3 separate regions of the Homo sapiens genome follow, and regions 1 and 3 are each linked to region 2. The links are contacts of gene promoters, found by promoter capture Hi-C in blood cells and fetal thymus (Javierre and others, 2016). All regions are on one chromosome and are shown on one strand. The core of a region is centred on a gene start or on the middle of the fragment in contact, and the rest is flanking DNA. Distances in the headings are between cores, read along the strand shown.

Region 1 (2,700 bases), core at 172-2,671, 280 kb after region 2:
GTTGCTGTGCCTGTTGGGGAGGTTCTGGCTTCTTGGGCTGTCCGCAGCCACGCCCCCCAGGCCTGTAGCAAAGGTGACTTGTCTTCAGCCTGCTCCCTCATCACGTCCGGAGCGGCATGTGGGTGCCAGGCGCCAGGCCCCGTCGTCTCGGCAGACGCCCCTCACCCCTTCCTGCCATGTCCAGCTTCAGAGAGCAGGGCCGTTCCCAGAGGCTGCAGGGCCTCGCATGTGGGCCAGGGCAGGCGTCGCGCCCATGTCCCCTGAGTTTTGGGGGCAGTGGGGCCACGCAGTGACGTGGGCAGGGACCTGGCAGGTCCCACTCAGACTCCAAGGAGCCGCTGCCCTCAGTGCCTGCGGGAACAGAGGGTATGAAAGCAACCTGGACCCGGGGGAGAAAGGCAAGCCCGGTGCTGCGCCCGACACCCGAACCAAGATCTGATAGCAGGTGGCAGGTCCAGCCCAGCGTGAACGGGCGTCCTGGCAGCCCCACCCGAGATCTGATAGCAGGTGGCAGGCCCCGCCCAACATGAATGCGGGGCGTCCTGGCAGGGCCCCCTGAAGACCAGGGGTCTCCACCTTGGCCCCAGGAGTCAGCCCCAGGGGAGGCCCAGCCTGGCCCTCGGCCCTGCGGCCGCCACCTTGACACCTCCCCCTCTGCTGTCTGCAGACCACGTGGCCGTGACCATCCAGCTCCTCCTTAGACGAGGCAACATCTTCCTCACGTCCTACCAGTACCCCTTCTACGACTGCCGCCAGGCCATGAGCCTGGAGGAGAACCTGCCGTGAGTGTCTTGTGCCCATCGACCCCACCCTGCCCGTCCACCCCAGCCCTGCTCACGATCCCCTCTGGATGCAGGTGCATCTCCTGCGTGAGCAACCGCTGGACCTGCCAGTGGGACCTGCGCTACCACGAGTGCCGGGAGGCTTCGCCCAACCCTGAGGACGGCATCGTCCGTGCCCACATGGTGAGGGGCCTCGGGGCCTCAGGGGACTGTTCAGGGCATGGCTGCTCCGCTGTGCCCAGGCAGCACCTGACCAGCCTTACTCTCCCAGGAGGACAGCTGTCCCCAGTTCCTGGGACCCAGCCCCCTGGTGATCCCCATGAACCACGAGACAGATGTGAACTTCCAGGGCAAGAACCTGGACACCGTGAAGGTGCGGAGGGAGGGGTGCCGGCTGGTGACAGGCAGGCTCAGGTGCGGAGGGAGGGGTGCCGGCCGGTGACAGGCAGGCTCAGGTACGGAGGGAGGGGTGCCGGCCGGTGACAGGCAGGCTCAGGTGCGGAGGGAGGGGTGCCGGCTGTGACAGGCAGGCTCAGGTGCGGAGGGAGGGGTGCCGGCCGGTGACAGGCAGGCTCAGGTGCGGAGGGAGGGGTGCCGGCTGTGACAGGCAGGCTCAGGTGCGGAGGGAGGGGTGCCGGCCGGTGACAGGCAGGCTCAGGTGCGGAGGGAGGGGTGCCGGCCGGTGACAGGCAGGCTCAGGTACGGAGGGAGGGGGTGCCGGTTGGTGACAGGCAGGCTCAGGTGCGGAGGGAGGGGGTGCCGGCCGGTGACAGGCAGGCTCAGGTGCGGAGGGAGGGGTGCCGGCCGGTGACAGGCAGGCTCAGGTGCGGAGGGAGGGGTGCCGGCCGGTGACAGGCAGGCTCAGGTGCGGAGGGAGGGGGTGCCGGTTGGTGACAGGCAGGCTCAGGTGCGGAGGGAGGGGTGCCGGCCGGTGACAGGCAGGCTCAGGTGCGGAGGGAGGGGGTGCCGGTTGGTGACAGGCAGGCTAAGGTACGGAGGGAGGGGTGCCGGCCAGTGCTGATGGGTGTGTGGGAAGCCTGAGCTCCACCCGTGCCCCCCGACTCGGGGCCCCCACATGAGGTAGAGGGCACAGGATTTATCGGGGACAGAGGCCAGGAGGCAGCACTCGGGGGCCTTTGGATGGGCCTGAAGAGAGGCAGTGGAGGAGGCAGGCGTGTGGAGATTGAGGGGCCAGTGCCACCTCCTGAGGAGGGAGCTGTGGGGGCCACGATGTCAGGTGGGCCGGGCGATGTTCTCAGGTGTGGATGAGTGGTGGAGGTGGCCGTGGGAAACCCACAGAGGACGTTCAGAGGCTTCTGCAGACACAGGTGTTTGGGCTCAGGAGTGGCCGAGGGGTCAGCTGGCATGGTAATCTGAGGGGCGGGCATGTGTGGGGTGAGGAGAGGGCTCCCACACTGTAGGCACAGAGGAGGGGCTGCAGGGGTTCTGGGAGGAGGGCCAGGGTGCCACAGCCGCCTGTCCAGGGTCCTGACGGCATGGTCTGCAGGGTTCCTCCCTGCACGTGGGCAGTGACTTGCTCAAGTTCATGGAGCCGGTGACCATGCAGGAATCTGGGACCTTCGCCTTTCGGACCCCAAAGGTACGGCTCCAGGGCAGGCCGGCTCGGCTGCTGGACCCCAGGGCCCCGGGTGGGGTGGGGGGTCACCTTCAGGACTGTGAGGGGAGGGGCAGCAGGGAGACCCCAGGGACCAGAGCCCAGCCAGGGGCTCGCCATGCCCTGTGCTGCTGGGGAAGCCCCCTCTGCCCTCTGCCTCCCTGGGGACAGAGTGGCACAGAGCAGCGTCCATGGGGTTCCCGAACTTCCGACACCTGAAGGCCTCCCCTGCTGCCCTTGGCTGGGAAGGGACCCGGTGGCCACAGGGAGGCTGCCCTTGTGACCCCCGCCCCACGCCCCTCT
Region 2 (2,700 bases), core at 86-2,585:
AGAATCACTTGAACCTGGGAGGCGGAGGTTGCAGTGAGCCGAGATCGTGCCACTGCACTCCAGCCTGGGCAACAGAGCAAGACTCCGTCTCAAAAAAAAAAAAAAAGAATTATTCCCTATTCATGTTTCTCTGGGCTGCTGTAACAGAAATCGGCTCTGGGCTGTATAAGCAAATGGAAGTATGAAGAGCAGCTCACAGGTGGAAAGGGATGGCCAGAAAACCGGGTTCAACCGGGGCAGGAACCTGGCAGCTGGCGGAGGGAGTGTGGCCCAGGCAGCAGCCTCCTCAATAAACAAGCGAATGCTCACTCCTTGCCCAGAACTGTCTGGCTCAACCCCAGCCATTTTTCCTCCTCTGCAATCAGGCTGCTAAGAATCAGAATCCCTGAGAGAAAATTCAGGGGGTCTAAGGTTTGTCAGGATTCTCAAACACAAGGTGTTCAAAATCAAAGTTAACCTTCCAAGCTAGCTTCTCCCACTCTTCCACATCTCTGCCAGTGGTATCACCCCGGCCATTAGCCCCTTGCTTCTTTCTCCCTCCCTCCCACATTACCAAGCCCTGTCAAGTCGACCTTGGAATGGCTTTGACCCTGTCCACCACTCAGCCAAACAACAGCAACGGCCGGCCCCGTCGCCACCCGCCTCGGCAGCCAGAGACCTTTTAACTCTGCCACTCGCCTACTTACCACCCTTCTAGGGTGCCCACGTCCCTCTGAAAAAAAAGGCTGAGCTCAGACTGGCCTCTGGTCAGCCTCCTCCCAGCCAGAGCTTTCTGTCACTGCCCTTCTAGGTGTTGAGTGGCTCTGCTTCCAGTTCTTGCCTGGAGACCAGGAGCGCCCGGGAGGCCCCAGCACTTTCCAGCCCACATAGACCTGCGTGCACCTCTGCCTCGTCTCCCTGAGCCCGGGCTGCCTCCTCTGTAAGATACATGCCACATAATGTCCGCCACACATGATCGCTGTGACAGTGGAAATAGCTGGGCGTTCAGCGACTCATTCGACAAATGTTTACCAGCACCTTTGGTACCGGGCGCTGTCCTGGACACTGGGGACACAGCAGGCAAACGGGGCCCTGCGTATAAATCCTTAAGCTCAAGAAGGAGGTGGGGGCAAAACTGTCAGGCCGGGAAGCTCTTCATCTCCGCAGGATTCTCCCTCAACCTCAGGACGTCCCCAGCACCGCACCTGCCAGTCCCAGACTCGGACGCCGCAGACCTGTGGGAGCAGCGCGGAATGCCCCGCCCCTTTTCCCGAGGACACCCAATGAGGGCGAGAGGTCACTTCCGGGGAGGGTTCGCTAACGGAAAGGGCGGGGCATCCCTCTCGAGGAGCGGCCTTGTTCCTCAAGCGGCCGCTGGGGGCGCCAGAGCAGGACCGGAGCGCGGGCCAAGCTGGAGGTGAGCGAGGCCGCGCCCCCCTGGGCCCCGGCCCTCCCAACGCGCCCTGACGGCTGGGCTCCGCCTGACCCTGTCCTAGCGTTCGCGGTGGCACCAACCTCAAGCCAGACCCTTGACTTCGACCCAACTCCACTCACCCGACTCCACTCACTCCACACCCCATGCCCCTCCCCCGACGCCCCTCACCCCGCCTCACCCTTCACCCCTCATCGCTCACGTCACCGCTCACCCGCCTCCTCACCCAGCCTCGCCCCTCACCCCTCACCCCGCCTCACCCCTCACCCCGCCTCACCCCTCACCCCTCATCCCGCCTCACCCCTCACCCCTCATCCCGCCTCACCCCTCACCCCTCCTCACCCCGCCTCACCCGCCTCGCCCCTCACCCCTCACCCCTCCTCACCCCGCCTCACCCCTCACCCCTCACCCCGCCTCACCCCTCACCCCGCCTCACCCCTCACCCCGCCTCACCCTTCACCCCTCACCCCGCCTCACCCTTCACCCCTCACCCCGCCTCACCCCTCACCCCTCACCCCGCCTCACCCTTCACCCCTCACCCCGCCTCACCCTTCACCCCTCACCCCGCCTCACCCCTCCTTACCCCGCCTCACCCGCCTCGCCCCTCACCCCTCATCGCTCACGTCACCGTTCACCCGCCTCCTCACCCAGCCTCACCCCTCACCCCGCCTCACCCCTCACCCCGCCTCACCCCTCACCCCTCCTCACCCCGCCTCACCCCGCCTCACCCCTCCCCCGCTCCCCTCACTGCACACTCCATACCCCACTCTCCCCACCTTACATCCCTCACCTCAGTCCTTCACCCCCTTAACCTAATCTCCATGTCCTCACACCATACACTCCTGATCCTGAAGTCTGCACACCCTGGGCTTCTCATTCCGTGCAGCCTGCCCCTCTTACCCTCACACCTGCCACACCTGGGACCCCGGAGTCCACACACCACCTCACACCCCAAGTTCCCACACGCACCTCTGGCTTCCTCCACCTGCACTTCAGGACCCGCCCAGACTCTTCATAGCCCAACTCCAAGACTTCTCTCCCACATCACAGGTGCATTCCCTTCCTGTGCTGCTCTCATCCCGTACAAAAGAGCACATCTCTGCACCAAGCATCCCTCTTATCCCCTCACATTCCTTGTTCTCAGAGGGATCCCAGACTCTGTTAGAAACTCTTCGTACCAGGCAAGACACTCAGACCACAAACCAGACTCTAGGCTCTGACTCGCTCAACCCCCGTCCTTCACACCTAAAGTGATACCCAAGCCAGACCCTACACTCCCGCCCCACGCT
Region 3 (2,700 bases), core at 146-2,645, 420 kb after region 2:
GGCTCGCCCACCCCAGCAGCTTCTGCTCTGTGGTCAGGAGGCCTCAGTGGGGAAATGCTCTTGGGGCAGAAACATGTCCTGATGCCTGAGGAAGCAGGTATGGGGCAGAGAGAGTGTCCGGAGCCACGCCAACACTCAACAGGACGCACCTTGGGCCCGCACCGTCCTCACTGCCGAGCCCACGTTTACCCTTCTCACTGCTGATTCCAGGATCTCCCCTCTCCAACCCTAGATGCTGGGCAAATCCATCACCTCTGAGCCTCAGGTGTCCCACTGTGGGGTGAGACCCTGTGGTCAGACCTGTGCGGGGGCGGGCTCCTGCTTACAGCAGTGCTGGGCCCAACATGTCCTGCATCCACTCACGGTCAGCTGACACCTTTCACTTCAGGTATCAATGTGTAACTCTCAAGACACGGATTTCACAAGTGACACCGTGAACCCCTCCCAGTGAAAGATGTGGAAATCAGCAAACTGCCATTTCCCCATCTCATGTCCCTATTTCTGTTGAAAAAAATTAACATTATGTATCTTTCCTAGAATGTAAGTATTTAGGTTTCAATTCTGTATTAATTGCAGTTATTTAATGTCACTTTTGCCAGATGACATTGCTACTTCTTTGCCCTTTGAAGTGCCCCTCCCCACTCCAGCCGCCCCCAGTGGCCAACTAACGCTGTGGGGCCTCTGCAGCTGGGCTGCAGCACCCTCCCTGCTTCTGCACAGAGCGCCTCTGAGAGAGCGGCCTGCAGCACCCTCCCTGCTTCTGCACAGAGCGCCTCTGAGAGAGCGGCCTGCAGCACCCTCCCTGCTTCTGCACAGAGCGCCTCTGAGAGAGCGGCCTGCAGCACCCTCCCTGCTTCTGCACAGAGCGCCTCTGAGAGAGCGGCCTGCAGCACCCTCCCTGCTTCTGCACAGAGCGCCTCTGAGAGAGCGGCCTGCAGCACCCTCCCTGCTTCTGCACAGAGCGCCTCTGAGAGAGCGGCCTGCAGCACCCTCCCTGCTTCTGCACAGAGCGCCTCTGAGAGAGCGGCCTGCAGCACCCTCCCTGCTTCTGCACAGAGCGCCTCTGAGAGAGCGGCCTGCAGCACCCTCCCTGCTTCTGCACAGAGTGCCTCTGAGAGAGCGGCCTGCCCTGGCCGGCCACCTCCTCCCACTACCTGAACATCAGCTCCAGGGTGCAGGGTCCATGCAGTGCCCGCTCTGCCCCCAAAGAGCCCTCTGCACCCCAGTGAGGACTGGCTCTTCGGCTCTTGACCTTTGACTCATCAACACACATTAACAAAAAAAATCCCTGTCTTGTTCAGATCCGTGCTGTCCAATCCGGTAGCCACACACGGCTCTCGGGCACCGCACAGTGGCTAGTCTGAAACCTGACATGCTCTAAGTGTAAAATACATGGTGGATTTTGAAGACTTGAACCAAAAAAAATGTAAAGTGTCTCATCAATCACGTTCTACTAATCTCATGATGAAAGGACATCATGTATGTGAGAGAGTTAAACGCGCCGATGAAACCATCCGTGACACGCTGTGATAGGCGTGGCTGGCTGTGCCTTTGCTCCATGTGGAGCTGACGGACCACCTCCTGTGGTCACCCTCACGACCACCGTGACGCTGGACACTGTCCAGGGTGACCTGTCTCCAGGCTGTCAGGGAGGGTCACGACCACTGTGACGCTGGACACTGTTCAGAGCGACCTGTCTCCAGGCCGTCAGGGAGGGTGGGGCTTCCCTCAGAGGCCCTGGCTTCTCCCTCTCTCACCCTCAGCCTGTGCCCCCGACACTGTCTGGCTCTATGCACTGAGAGGGAGCTGCCTGCTGCCTCCCCGACCCCACCCCCCTGCACTGGGGTCTGAGAGTGCCTTGGTCCTCACTCAGCCTCCCTGGGCTCGAAGCTCTTCCTCCCAGCCCCCAGGGGAGGTCCTCCTATGACAGCCGGCACCCCACAATCCATCTCCTCCGCCTGTCTCCCCTGAAGAGCCCCCAGCGCCAGGGACACAAATGGCCCCCAGGGTCTGACCTTACAGAGCCCAGCCGTTTCCTAGGCAGCCTGCCTCCCCACGCCCACTCCAAGAGACTCACTCTCCTGCTCAGAAGCCCTTCACTGGCTTCCCGGCTCACCAGAGGTCGTCCAAAGGCCCCTCCACAGCCCGCCAGGCCTCCCCCTCACCACCCCTTTCAGGCCGTTCCTGCTCACGAGGCTCTGGCTCTACAGTCTCCTTTGGGGAGACCTCAGTGCTCCCCCACCGCGGGGCCTCTGCATGGGCCAGTCCATCTGCCTGCCCATCCCACTGCTGGCTCCTTCGAGTCCTTGGGGTCTCGGCTTCCCCAGCTCCATTCAGGCACGGCCCTCCCCAACCAGCCTTTCTCGCCCACAGCCCTGCCTCCCTCCCTGAGCACTGAGTCTCTGGGTCATCCGCCCCTCAGACAGAAGCTAGGAGAGGACTCCGACCTCTGCCCTGGGAGGCCCCATGCCGCGCTCCATGCCCGGGGCTCACCTCACTCCTATTTGGTAAAACAGCCCTGAGCTGCTGCATGTGGTGATGATTATCCGGAAGCGTGAGGCTTTCCAGATGTCTTCTCCGTCTCTGCAATACGGTTTGACGGCGTCAATAACTATCTGGGGGCAAGGAGGCGTAGAGTTAGTTTACTCCTCCAATTATTAAGCAGAATTCCAAAAGGGAACCTTGCCCTGGTACCACTTC

Evidence for each region. Contacts are between HindIII fragments. The CHiCAGO score rates a contact against its expected background, and 5 or more counts as called.
Region 1: a contact is called between a fragment that was not itself captured here and the fragment with the promoter of SYCE3 in region 2, in 1 of 17 cell types (monocytes). The highest score is 5.0, in monocytes.
Region 3: a fragment that was not itself captured here is called in contact with the fragment with the promoter of SYCE3 in region 2 in 1 of 17 cell types (monocytes); the score reaches 5.1 in monocytes.

The regions. Positions count from the first base shown.
Region 1 is chr22:50,284,255-50,286,954 of GRCh38, reverse strand. It overlaps PLXNB2 (plexin B2), which reads left to right. Exons shown (of 37, transcript NM_012401.4): 9 at 668-782; 10 at 857-965; 11 at 1,054-1,155; 12 at 2,290-2,382. Among named protein-coding and RNA genes, the nearest start is that of MAPK11, 15 kb to the right of the region's middle. The HindIII fragment of the contact is 5,633 bases long and covers 1-2,700 here.
Region 2 is chr22:50,561,554-50,564,253 of GRCh38, reverse strand. SYCE3 (synaptonemal complex central element protein 3) reads left to right here and starts at 1,335. Exons shown (of 3, transcript NM_001123225.3): 1 at 1,335-1,396. It overlaps LOC107985568 (a long non-coding RNA gene), which reads right to left and starts at 1,293. Exons shown (of 2, transcript XR_001755606.3): 1 at 687-1,293. RefSeq lists a silencer at 1,234-1,643. The HindIII fragment of the contact is 5,765 bases long and covers 1-2,700 here.
Region 3 is chr22:50,145,604-50,148,303 of GRCh38, reverse strand. It overlaps MOV10L1 (Mov10 like RNA helicase 1), which reads right to left. Exons shown (of 27, transcript NM_018995.3): 19 at 2,494-2,615. Among named protein-coding and RNA genes, the nearest start is that of PANX2, 24 kb to the left of the region's middle. The HindIII fragment of the contact is 7,030 bases long and covers 1-2,700 here.